Linked DNA regions of Homo sapiens: regions 1 and 2 are each linked to region 3. The links are contacts of gene promoters, found by promoter capture Hi-C in blood cells and fetal thymus (Javierre and others, 2016). All regions are on one chromosome and are shown on one strand. Each heading gives the region's core, a stretch centred on a gene start or on the middle of the fragment in contact. The rest is flanking DNA. Distances are from core to core; before and after follow the strand shown.

Region 1 (4,175 bases), core at 647-3,146, 470 kb before region 3:
GTACCTACTGAATCTAAAATTGTAGGGGCTGGGGCCCAGTCATTGGTGTTTTAACAAGCCCTCCTAGTGAGTCTGTGCTGAAGTTTGAGAACGACTGTTCTGCTAGGCTGTTCCCCAGAGCTCCCTTATGGGCTTGAGCTCCCGTTGTCTACAATGGTAACCTGCTTGATAACACATCTTTTTTTGGTCTCCTTCCCTTTCTTGTCTCACTTCCTCATTCTTCAGCTGGAGCTTCCTGAATTCACTTCTAATAAACGACTTGCACTTTAATCCTTGTCTGGGATCAGCTTCTAGAGAAACACCACCTTAGATGAGAACAACTAGGGGAGGTGTCATTGCCCAGTGAGGAGGAGGACGATGGCTGGCTTCAGGGAGGACCAAATGCTCTGCCAAATGCTTTGCTCTCATTGTCTGCTTCACCCTCACAATGCCTCAGTTGAGAGGGAGATGTTGCCCCCCAACGGGGAAACTAGGGTTTGGAGGATTTAAGTGGCTTGCCCAAGAATTTGAATCCAGGTCTGAGTCCAAAAGGTGAGCTCCTTACCAGTGAGGGCAGAGGGCCAGCCCATGTTTTGCTCTCTTGTCATTCCTCCTCTTCTCAGAGCAGGCAAGCGTTAAATGAAAATTGTAGGAGGCCATTGTTTTGGACTAAGTTTCTGAATTAGGCCCCAGCAGACCAGGCTAAAAATCCAAAGGGAGTCACCCATGCTAAAGTTCCATGGCACTAAACCCAAACTAAGTAGTTACCTGAAAAGAGGTAACAGCCAATGTCCCAAACAGGCCAGTTCAAATCTCAATGGTCACAAGAGTGAATCCCCTCTGCTTTATTCCTTATATGAAAGAAGTAGCGTTGAGTAACCTGATGCTAATGAATCAGTTGTTTTTCTATCATTCTGTCTCCCTGTCCCCACCTCGTGAGGGAAGTGGCTCTGAAGCAACTAATAGGCTCTTTGTTCTTCTCTTCTGTTTCCTTCAGCCCTCTCTGTCTATAAAACCAACTCCCTCTGCTCAGCTTATCAGAACACTTATTCTATTTTATGGAATGAAGTGTTGCCAGATTCTATAATTGCAATAAAGCCATTTGAGATCTTTAAGCTAAATTTCTTATCATTTTGTCTTTTGATACAGGGATCCAGTTTTGTTGTGAGGAGTGCTATAGGCTGGACACTTTGGAAAAATCCCGAGTGCACTTTGTGGACACTGCTGGCCTGAAATAGTGGGGCACACTGGCCTGAGAGCTCCCTGGCTCCCAGTGCCTAAGGTCCTTTACCCCATACTCCCTCAAGGTCCATCCCTATACCCTCCAGCCCACAGCATGTGACCAAGCATGTGCCCCTTAACCTGGAGCTGGAACCCTTCCTTTCACAGATACCTGGAAATTGAGCCAGATCTGCATCCGAGGGACACTAGAAGGGATGGGGAGGAGCGCTTACCCCTGAACTCTGTTTTGTCTCATGTTTGGAGGCCCAAGGTCATTTGGTTCTTCAGATTTCCAGCAAACTATAGCTCTCACTCCCTTCCCGCATGCCCTCACCCCACGGCTTTTACACTTAAGAGGAATGGCCCTGCCTTCTCTGGGCCCACAGCTCCTGTGGCTTGAGGTTCCAGCCGTCTTGTTAACAATTTTTCTCCCTGCGATGTAGGAATGATGGCTGTGTTAACAGGTCGGGGGGCGGTTGGGGAGACACTAACAAGATGATAAACCTTGGTATTTGGCTCTGCTGCTGACTTTGAGCGAGTCCTTTTTTACCTCTCAGAGCCTTATTTTTCTCATCTGTAAAGTGGGGAGTCCTGCTCCCCTCCCCTGAGGTTGTTCTAATGAGGCCGTGCTCATAGTAGGTAAATAATGTACACACACAACATGGGCATGCACAGCGATGGGTGCAGGTTGCAATTGGGACTTCCCTCTGTTCCCTCCATCACAATTGATGAGGGACTTTGGGGCTGATCTTGACTTCTCCAGGATCCTGGTCTCCCAGTAGGTTGCTAGTGATGCTCAAAAGGTAGGGGTCTCTCCCCAGGACACTGCCAGCCTGCCCTTCTGGGAGGAAGGAGACAGAAAGGGTTACTTTGGCAATCACGAGGCTTAAGGATGCCCCAATGCTTCACCCTGTCCCAAACCGACCCCCTACTCCCACCCCCAAGTCTAAAGTGGGTCCCTCTACAATAATCTCTCATCACGCCATTCATTCTTCCTTTGTGGCACTTATTATAAGTGCTAATTATTTATCAATATTTGTTTTTTTAAACAAAACTTTATTATGAAAAGTTTCCAACATTTACCAGAAAAACCCAAAACAGAACAGTATCACAGACTCCATATACCTATCACCCAGCTTCAACAATGATCAACTCGAGGTCAATCTTGTTTTATCTCTACCCCTACTCACTCCTGCCTCCTAGTATTAATTTGAGGCAACACATTTGTAAATGTTTTGGTAGGTATTGCTAAAAATAAGGGCTCTTGTATAAAACATAACCACAAATACATGTCATTATACATTTATCCAAACCCACAGAATGTACAACACCAAGAGTGAACCCTAATGTGAGCTATGGACTTGGGGTGATGATGGTGTGTCAGTGCAGGCTCACTACTGTATCAAATGCTCTGCTCTGCTGGGGGATGTTGATACTGTGGCAGGCTGTGCACAACGTGGGGGCAGTCTCTGTACCATCTTCTCAATTTTCCTGTGAACTTAAAACTACTCTAAAAAAGTTAAGTCTTAAAAAATAAAATCAAAAGAGCAAAGCTCCTGTTATTAAATCTAAAAAATGAACAATAATTCTTTGGTATGTGATTATTGTTAAATGTGTATCTCCCTCCACTGGGTTGGGAGCCTCATGAGAGCTTGCGTGAGGCCTACTAGGTCCTTGGTGAGTAATTGTTGGATGGATGGATGGATGGGTGGATGAATGGATGGAAGGATGGATGGATGGAGAAAAGGCAAAGGGAGCTGGGAGCCCACTTTGCTTTCCATGGATGCTGTCTGATCCCTTCAACACTGGGGTGTGATCACTGCCTTGCAGGTCCACAGACTGTCTCATCCTCTTGGATGTGAGCACCACCATGGAGCTGAAAACCTTTCTCAGTTTTTTTCGCTCCTAACCTGCCTTCCACAGAATCAGGCAAGTAGTCGCTAATCCTCTCCTGTTGGCTGCAGCCTGCTCCCACTGTGCAGCTAATTCCACCTTCCAACTTAATCATCATGCTTAGCACTTTCAATAAGGGCTTTTCATCTTCAGAGCACTGCTCAGCCATTAGCTGATTACTGTAATCTGTCCAACTCCCAAGACGTCAACCAGCATGGCAATGAGAGGCTTCCCTTATTCTCTTGGAGACTCAGTTTCCTCATCTGTAAAACTGGGTTAATATACCTAACTGGCATGGTCGGTGTAGGGTTTCAGTAAAATAAAGTCCAGAAAGTGTCTGGCACTGTCCTTTGACACCTAACAAGCCCTCAGTAATTGTTTATTATCTGTTTCCTGTATGGTGCAGAGGTTAACTCTCATTGGAGAGCCCAGAAAAATCTGGATTTGAATCCAGCTTCCTCCGCTTAAAGTTACATTTCCTGAGCCTCAGTTTTCTGATCTCTAAAATGGGGGTGATGGCACTGCCTCAGTTGGCTGAAAGATCAAATGATGTGACATATGTGTGTGATGTGCTGGGCACAATGTGAGTCACCTAGGAAGTCCTTCCTGGAAGGAAATGGAGGCAGGGAAGGAGAAGGAGGCTGTAGTGCTCCTTGGGAAGGTGCTAGATAATTCTTTTCTCCTTTGTCCCTCAAGATGTTTGAGGGGAAGAAAGATGCCTATTGTACTCACCATTACAACCCCAGCCAACTACCCCCTTGCCCAGCTGTGTGCTCAAAAAAATAAGTAAAGGAATTCAGTGTGCTATGGGTGGAACTACATCTCAACAGGACTGGAGAGTTTATAGAAGACTTTCAGATTTTTCTTTATCTCACAACCAGAGAAAGTAAACAGGCCAGGGATTATCCCCACATATTACAGACGAGGAAACTGAGGCTCAGAGAGAATAAACACAAGGCCTGCAAACGTTAAGAGCTAGAGCCACCCCATCCCAATTTGGATGCATCAGGAGACGTGTCTAAGCTTTGCCCTCCAGAGGAGCTAGGCCTCTGTCTCAGCTGGAGTTACAGGTCTTCTTGAGA
Region 2 (4,522 bases), core at 1,369-3,868, 490 kb after region 3:
CTGAGTGCTTGCCTGCCTATCTAGGAGTTCCCAGTGTAGGGTTAAGAGGCTTAGGAACAAAATGACAGGAAGGGCTCCAGGGAGCCTTATCCTCCCAGCTCCAATCACAGGCTCTGTCAGCTGTGGGAAGAGCCTTGACACCCAGACAGGACCAGTGCTCTGGGGACAACAGTCCCTGCCCTAGTCCTCTGCTCCTCACATCTCTCCAGTTGCAGGGAAAAGGGCTGGCATCTGGCCACAGGGAGCCTGAGCCGGCGGCCAGGGTCCAGTGGACCGACTCTGCCCCCTGCTGGCTGAGAAGGGTCCTGCCAGCTCCCAGCCAGAGGTGGCCACCTTTTGGGAGAGGGGGACCCACCCCACTGAAGATGTGCACCCACTGTGTAGCTGACCCTGGGCCAGGTGCTGGACATCAGTGAGGGGAGCTGACCCCCTAACGGCTCATGAAATGTCCTCAAGTTCACTCCTGGCAGTCGAGACTAAGCATTCATTAAACTAATATTGTTGAGCATTTCTAGTGGGCCAGACATTTTATATGCATTACTCATTAATTTCCACAGCAGGTGGATGTTATAATTCCCATTTTATAGATGAGGAAACCAAGGTTATATAACTTGTTTAGGGTCACACAGCTTCTTAGTGGAGAAGCTGGGATTCTAAGCCATGCTTGCTCTGTCTGACTCTAGTGCCCTGTTCTTTCCACAGCCTCAGGAAGCCCAACCAGAGCCGAGGAGCAGAGGTTCTTCGTCAGGGTTGGCAGGGGAGATGGGCAGGGAAGAGTCACAAAGCCGCCGAAATTATATGCAAAACTCTGTGTGTATATGTGTGCGTGTATGTGTGCATGTGTATTATGTGTGTGCATGTATTGTGTGTGTGTGTACATGTGTATCGTGTGTGTGTATGTGTGTGTGCACATGTGTGCATAGTTTTAGGGAAAAGTTCTGTAGCTCTCGCTGCAATTTCTTAGGGGACCATAATCCTAAAAAGCTTAAGAGTCCTAGTTGAATAGAGAAAGTATATTTTCTTGATTCGAAGCCAGGTTTCTGCATTATGATCGCACACTGGCTGGATCAGGATGGGAAAGAAGGCCCCTGATGGGGCTGAGAATTTAAAGCCCCTTGTCTGCCCATGGCCCGGCCTCACCCATGTACTCACGGTCTTGGACTCAGACTGTAGGGTGGACTGGAGACCATGAGCTGGCTGAGAGCTGACACGAGAATCAGGATGAGGATAGGCATCAGCTGCACAAACACCCCTAGCCCGCCCTGGAGGGAAGAGCCAATGTCACTCTGCTGGACCTGGGTGGGGTGTGGTGTCAGCCATAATCACCACTAGCTCCCCTAGAATAGTGGAGCCTGGGGAGACATGACACCACTCTGCCGTTCCCTCCACGAGGCTCCAAAACACAGACGCTCCTTCACCTGCCAGCTTTCCCAGATAAAAACAAAGCAGCAACTGGTGTGAAATACAGGAGGAAGTGAGGTGTCTGCATTTACTTTTGACAGAATGCCAAAAAAAAAAAAAAATCAGCAAAAGTTGCTTCCTCCAGGAGAATGGAAGGCAGGGCTGGAAGGAGACATGCAGTATATACAAGTTTTTGAGATGTGAACCACACAAATATATTACCAATTTAAACATTATGGCCAGTGTGGCGGCTCATGCCTGTAATCCCAACACTTTGGGAGACCAACATGAGAGGAACACGTGAGGCCAGGAGTTCAAGACCAGTCTGGCCAACATACACCCCCATCTCTACAAAAAATAATAATTAAAACAAAATAAAAATTAGAAATAGCACTGGTTCTAGGGTGCAGAAAAAGCAAACAAACAAAAAAAGAAGAATTAGAAATAAAAATTAACAAATATATTCACTGTGTGATAATCTGTGATGTTAAACTCTTCTGTTGTTAGATACAAAATAAAAAAATTTTGATCAGGGGCAATGGCTCATGCCTGTAATCCCAGCACTGTGGGAGGCTGAGGCAGGAGGACCACTTGAGCCCAAGAGTTTGAGACCAGCCTGTGCTCAAACAGCAAAGTAAGACCCTATCTCTACAAAAAATACAAAAAATTAGCTGGGTGTGGTGGTGTGGGCCTGTGGTCCCAGCTACTGGGGAGCCTGAGGTGGGAGCTTTGCCTGGGAGGGGAGGCTCCTGCACTCTAGCCAGGGTGACAGAACGAGACCCTGTCTCAAAAAAAAAAAAAAAAGGCCGGCATGGTGGCTCACGCCTGTAATCCCAGCACTTTGGGAGGAAGGGGCAGGCAGATCACGAGGTCAGGAGTTCGAGACCAGCCTGGCCAACATGGTGAAACCCCGTCTCTACTAAAAATACAAAAATTAGCTGGGTGTGGTGGCGGGCGCCTGTACTCCCAGCTACGTAGGAGCCTGAGACAGGAGAATCACTTGAACCTGGGAGGCAGAGGTTGCAGTGAGCCAAGATTGTGCCACTGCACTCCGGCATGGGCAACAGAGCGAGACTCCATCTCAAAAAATTAAAAAAAAAAAAAATTGAATAAATATTGTCAGAGCAAAAGGAAACCCCTTCCGCCTGGCCAGAATTTAAAATGTTTTGCAATTGTCCACAATATTTTAATTTTAGCCAGCTAGCTGTTCTTTGATCTGTGGCATACAAAATGTGTTTGAAGCACTGTCTAGTTATAATTTTTATACTTTTTTTTTTTTTTGAGACGGAGTCTTGCTCTGTTGCCTAGGATGGAGTGCAGTGGCACGATCTCGGCTCAACACAACCTCTGCCTCCTGGGTTCAAGTGATTCTCATGCCTCAGCTTCCCGAGTAGGGATTAAAGGCGCCTGCCACTACGCCCAGCTAATTTTTGTATGTTTAGTAGAGACGGGGTTTCACCATGTTGGCCAGACTGCTCTCAAACTCCTGACCTCAGGTGATCTACCCACCTTGGCCTCCCAAATTTTTGTAAATATCTTTTTAAAAGTATCTTTTGGCTTTTTAGCAAGAAGAGTCGGCACCTATGTTGTCATCCTTTAAAATTCTCTCAGTGGCAGAGCGCAGTGGCTCACGCCCATAATCCCAGCACTTTGGGAGGCTGAGGCGGGTGAATCACCAGAGGTCAGGAGTTCAAGGCCAGCCTGGCCAACATGGTGAAACCCCATCTCTACTAAAAATACAAAATTAGCCGGGGGTGGTGGCACGCACCCGTAATCCCAGTTACTCGGGAGGCTGAGGCAGGAGAATGGCTTGAACCCGGGAGGCGGAGGTTGCAGTGAGCCGAGATCGCGCCACTGCACTCAGCCTGGGCGAGAGAGCAAGACTCCATCTCAATTAAAAAAAAAGAAATTTCTCTCACAAAGTTGAGAGAAAATAGCTGAGACCCATGAAAAAAATGAAAAATAAAATAAAATTCTCTCACAAAGTGTAACTTTCCATTGCTTAGAGGATGTCACTTTGGCCTTACCAGCGAGCGGTCTGCATGGGAGCCTCACACTCAAACCTGGCTGTGGGTGGGGTTTCTGGTTCCACTCCCCAGCCAGGCCAGCAAAGCCGCGCTCCCGCCGGCAATGTGGAGCATGGCTCCCTCGTGTGGCGCCCTCTGGTGTCACTCAGCAGAATGGCAAGGGAGGCCCAGAGGGCTCCTTGGCTGAGAGTTATGGGGACTCTGCTGGTCCCAGAATGGACAGTGTGGGAGGGAACACCCTCCTCCAAGCCCCCTCCCTGGGGTGGATTTGGTGCCCTTCCCGCGCTGTCCCTGGCGCCCTCCTCACTCACATCACCCTGGTTGTCCCTGCGGTCCTGCCTTTGCTGGTAGGTATAGCGCATGCGGCCGTTGCTGTAGACGTGGACGTTACCTGGGGGTCAGAGGGGCTGAGTCAGGAGCCAGGTCTGTTGGGAAAGGGAGAGGCTGGCATGCCATTCCCACCATCACCCCAGGGATACCTGGCTGTGGGGAGGGTGGGGAACTTACTAGAAGGGAAGCCGCCGCCAAAGAACATGTTGAAGAGGTCTTCAGGGGAGATGTCGGCCTCAAAGCCACGGTGGAAATCCCCATGCCCATGGCCGTGCCGGGCCGCCTGGCTCTTGTCATCGCCGAACTGGTCATACTGCTTCCTCTTCTCCGGGTTGCTGAGTACCGCATATGCTGTGCCAATGGCTGGAGAGGAGGAGGAAAGGTCAGGCCTGAGGATCCTGGGGTGCGGGGGGAGGCTCCCATGGCAGCCGAGTGCTCACTTTTCTCAGGTACTCAAGCAGTGCTTTAGGAAGCAGACGTCCTTGGGGTGGGCAGGAAGCTTGGCCAGTGTAAGGAGGGGGCATGCAGGAAGACCCCTCAGTGGATCTGGGCAGCCTGGCTGGGTGGAGGGTAACACAGGCTCCTTGTTCTCCTCAAGACAATGGTCAAGCTTTGTCAATGTGCCAGGCCTCCTAGGAGTGTGGCCTCATTTACTTCTTTTTGTTTGTTTATTTTATTTTTTGAGGCAGGGCCTCACTCTGTCACCCAAGCTGAGTGCAGTGGAGCAACCGTGGCTCACTGCAGTCTCAACTTCCTTTGCTCAA
Region 3 (4,496 bases), core at 51-2,550:
ATCATACCCTACAAACCATAAACTCTCATCAGATGGGTTTTATTTGACCCCATATATCGTGACTTACTTTCCAATCTGACTCTGGCATAACATTTTATAAGACAAGGAAAAAAAAATCAAAATATCTAACCCCAAAATATATTTCCTTGCCATACCTTGAAATTGCCCTGCAAAGTCTCTTGTGGGAAAAATCCACATTCTATAGAGAATCCCCTTTCCCCTATGTTTTCCTTCCTTCCTCTCCAGATCCAGGAGATAATCAACTAAGAGCCAGTCACCCTTTCATTTCCATAGAAATATTTTACAACGTGCTCGCTCTCTTAGTCGGCTACCTGAGAGCTTCCTCTGCACAATAAAACTTGGTCTCCACAATCCTTTATCTTAACTTGAATACTTTCTTTCTATTGATTCTAGGTTTTCAGATAAACTCAACCAATTATCAACTAGAAAATGTTTAAATTTACCTATGGCCTGGAAGCCCCCCGCCGCTTTGAGTTGTTTCGCCCTTCTGAACCAAACCAACGTATTTCTTAAATGTATTTGATTGATGTCTCGTGCCTCCCGAAAATATGTAAAACCCAGCTGTATCCCAACCACCTTAGGCACATGTTCTCAGGACCTCCTGAGGGCTGTGTCACGGGCCATGGTCACTCATATTTGCCTCAGAATAAATCTCAAAATATTTTTACAGAGTTTGACTCGTTTTGTCAACACCTAGAATCCAGAGTAAATACATATGCAAACGTCAATATAGATGATACACATGTGCTTCCTGCAGCTTCGCTACCCTTACAAACAGGCAACTGAAGCCAACGGCCAAAGTGTCCTGCGGGACGGGGCTCCAGCCCACCTCGATCACGTGCGCCCAGCACAGGCACAACACAGCTGCCCAAGGGGTCACCCTACAAGACTCACCCACCCCCACAGTGGGAAGCGCAGCCTGAGGGAAGGCCTCGGGGCCCCAGCCGCGCAGGAACCCACTCGAGCCCCGAAGGAGATGCTGCCCAGGGCCTGGGCCGTCCTCCCGGGGGCATTTTCGCAGCCCGCCCCCCGCAGCCCCCAGCCGCCCAGAGAAAGCCAGAGAAAGCCAGCGAACGCGCCTGCGCAGTGCGCGCGCCCCCTTGCCAACTAGGGCAGGGGGAGCAGAGGGGCCAGGCCCGGCACAGCCCATTCTGGGGCAGATGGACGCTGCGAGGCACCTCCTCCCCAGGATGAGGGTCCCAGGGCTTACCCGCGCCCAGGAGGCTGGCCAGGAGGAAGAGGGCGTACATAGCGCCGTCTGACTCCGCAGTCTGCAATGCGGAGCGTCAGCTGATCCCCCGCAGATATAAATCTGCCCTGCCCCAAAGCCGTCCAGAGCGCAGGCGCTAACCCCGCCCCATCCGGGCCTGCCCGAGCTCAACAGCGCCCTGACTCAGCGCCTCTGAGGGCGCCTGCGCGAAGGGGAGGCCAATAGGAGGGGGCAATGGGAGGGGCGAAAGGAAGGGCTATGGGGAGGAGTGAGGAAGAACTTGGAGAAAGGGAAGGGAAAGGTCATAAAAGAAAAGCCCTACTAATTGAATAGGTCAGAGATTATATATGTAAAATACCTTTTAAATCTCCACATTGTTGGCCGGCCGCGGTGGCTGACGCCTGTAATCCCAACACTTGGGAGGCCGAGGCGGGCGGAGGGTTCAAGACTAGCCTGGGCAACGTGGTGAAACCCCATCTCTACAAAAAAAAAAATACAAAAAAATTAGCCCATTGTAGTAGCGGGTTTCACATAGAATAGCTTGGGGTTTCACATAGAATAAGTAGTCGTGTAACAGGGTACAGGGCTCAGTCCTGGCCAGGGGCACGTGGGGGCAGGTGGTGGCACCTGGTCAAAGGCAAGTCTGGGCTGGGCATGCTGGCTCACTCCTGTAATCCTAACACTTTGGGAGGCCGAGGCGGGCGGATCATGAGGTCAGGAGTTCAAGACCAGCCTGGCCAATATGGTGAAACCCTGTCTCTACTAAAAATACAAAAATTAGTCAGGCGTGGTGGCGCTCGCCTGTGGTTCCAGCTATTTCAGGAGGCAGAGGCAGGAAAATTGCTTAAACCCGGGAGGTGGAGGTTGCCGTGAGTCAAGATCGCACTACTGCACTGCAGCCTGGACCACAGAGCGAGAGAGATTCCCATCACCAAAAAAAAAAAAACAAAAAACTTTTAAGCCTCACATTGTGGTACCGTTAAAGATGTAATACCATTCCTCACCCATCATAAGAGATCATAAGAGTCACAACCAACACTCCTGTAACGAGACAGCTTAAGAGAAAAGCATAACAAATTTATGTAATCAACGTTTTATGTGACATGGAAGCCTTCAGAAATTAAGACCCAAAGACCCTCTGCCTGTGGCTGCCCCTGCCAGGACCTGAACAGAGAATGATGATGACCCTCTCCAGAAGGATAAGAACCTGCCAACCGCAAGGCAGGGAAAGGAGGGGAATCTTAGCCCCTTAGGGCAGGCACTTAGAGGTCATTTACCTGTAGGGACATTGAGCCTAGGAGAGGGCAAGACGTTTATCCAAGGTCACACAACAGGTAGAGATAGAACCTGGCCCGAAGCCAGGTTTCCTGACCCAGGAAGGGCAAACCTACAGTTCCTCCAACTTCCTCCAATCTGCAATCCGCTCTGGAGAACAACCCCAGGGACTAAGGCCTCAGAACCTTCAGTTCTGCTCCCCTGCAATCTCCCTAAGTGCCCCCAGCCCCCACCACAGCTCTGACTTCCTCTGGGGAGCCAGATGGGGAAGTGTGCCCCATGCACCACAGTGGGCCATGTGAGGCAGCTGAGTGAGTTGGGACAAGATGTGGTCTCAACTGGACGCCTCACAGGTCGGCCTCAGTGGCCAGATGGAGACTTCGTGGCTGCTCCACCTTTGGGCTTCCCAAGGCCAGGCAGAAGCGTGGGGCAGACCACACAACAACTGGTTAAAAGCAAGGGAGCTAGCCGGGCGCGGTGGCTCACGCCTGTAATCCCAGCACTTTGGGAGGCCGAGGCAGGCAGATCACGAGGTCAGGAGATCGAGACCATCCTGGCTAACAGGGTGAAACCCCGTCTCTACTAAAAATACAAAAAATTAGCCGCACGATGTGGCGGGCGCCTGTAGTCCCAGCTACTCGGGAGGCTGAGGCAGGAGAATGGCGTGAACCCGGGAGGCGGAGCTTGCAGTGAGCCGAGATCGTGCCACTGCACTCCAGCCTGGGCAACAACAGCGAAACTCCGTCTCAAAAAAAAAACAAACAAAAAAAGCAAGGGAGCTGGGGCTCTAGGACAAATCCCCCATCCTTCAGCTCCTTGCAGATGGAGGAGCAAAGCATCCCAGTGCTCCATGCAGAGGTTACAGGACCCCAAGCCAAAAGGACGCTCAGAGACCTCAGATCATCCCCTCTCATCTTATAGAGCTACTGACATCTCAGGGCTGGTTAACAACAGAGCCTGAACCAGGACTTGTTTTTTTTGTTTTGTTTTGTTTTGTTTTGTTTTGTTTTTTGTTTGGAGATGGAGGCTCACTCTATCACCCAGGCTGGAGTGCAATGGTGCGATCTCAGCTCACTGCCACTTCTACCTCCCAGGTTCAAGCAATTCTCCTGCCTCAGCCTCCAGAGTAGCTGGGATAACAGGTGCACGCCACCACACCTGGCTAGTTTTCTTGTATTTTTTGGTAGAGACAGGATTTCACCATGTTGACCAGGCTGGTCTCAAACTCTGACCTGAAGTGATCTGCCTGCCTTGGCCTCCCAAAGTGCTGGGATTACAGGTGTGAGCCACCACACCCCTCCTTTTTTTTTTTTTTAAATATTCCTCCTTCATACCTAGAGGAATATGTCAGTGTTTTTGAGAGAAACTTTTGCTGCCTTTCATCTCCTCACCTGTAACTCAACAGTAATATGCTGCTTCATCCGCCTCGTCCTGAACCCCATGAGGACAGAATTTTAACAAAGAATATAAAAGCAATAAGTAGATTATTATTAATTTTTTTACCTTGTCAGTAGACGCTTAAATCCTCTTAAAAAAAAAAAAAAAAAACCTTCTGAACCATCTGCGTGTAGGCAACAAGAGCTGTGAAGCTCCTCAAACCCTCTGGCTCTCTTATGCCTTTCCTAGCTATGTACCCTCAGGGAAATACTCCAGAAGTGAAGGAATATTTTGTCCGAAGTGTTCACAGAAGGGCCCTTTAGAAACATGGAAGCTGGAAAGATCCCAAGTGCTGAACAATGAAGAGATGACTGTGGAAACTGGCTGGACAGAGCAACGGTACTGAAGCAGCTTTGAAACAGGAGGAGGAGGGAGCAAGGGCTAGGCTGCAGCAAGTCTTCCAGGAACGTGGGTCCCAAGAAACATGGGCAGAGTGAGAGGCCAAACCCCATCTGCTAGTAAGCCCTGCTGCTGACTTCCCAGAGAGGATGGCAGAACTGGTGGAGAGCTTCTAGATCCTGGATCCCATCGGGCGCAGTGGCTCACACCTGTA

Evidence for each region. The method cuts DNA at HindIII sites, captures the fragments that hold promoters and counts their contacts. A CHiCAGO score of 5 or more calls a contact.
Region 1: a contact is called between a fragment that was not itself captured here and the fragment with the promoter of PSAP in region 3, in 8 of 17 cell types (naive CD4 T cells, naive CD8 T cells, neutrophils and 5 more). The highest score is 7.9, in naive CD4 T cells.
Region 2: a contact is called between a fragment that was not itself captured here and the fragment with the promoter of PSAP in region 3, in 1 of 17 cell types (fetal thymus). The highest score is 5.4, in fetal thymus.

What each region holds. Positions count from the first base shown.
Region 1 is chr10:71,378,638-71,382,812 of GRCh38, forward strand. It overlaps a transcript of SLC29A3 not described here. Among named protein-coding and RNA genes, the nearest start is that of CDH23, 16 kb to the right of the region's middle. The HindIII fragment of the contact is 4,435 bases long and covers 1-4,114 here.
Region 2 is chr10:72,337,050-72,341,571 of GRCh38, forward strand. It overlaps DNAJB12 (DnaJ heat shock protein family (Hsp40) member B12), which reads right to left. Exons shown (of 9, transcript NM_017626.7): 4 at 3,936-4,121; 5 at 3,740-3,819; 6 at 1,153-1,262. Among named protein-coding and RNA genes, the nearest start is that of DNAJB12, 16 kb to the right of the region's middle. The HindIII fragment of the contact is 3,273 bases long and covers 983-4,255 here.
Region 3 is chr10:71,849,951-71,854,446 of GRCh38, forward strand. PSAP (prosaposin) reads right to left here and starts at 1,301. Exons shown (of 14, transcript NM_002778.4): 1 at 1,232-1,301. The coding sequence starts at 1,271. RefSeq lists enhancers at 1-59, 451-981, 982-1,512. The HindIII fragment of the contact is 9,568 bases long and covers 1-4,496 here.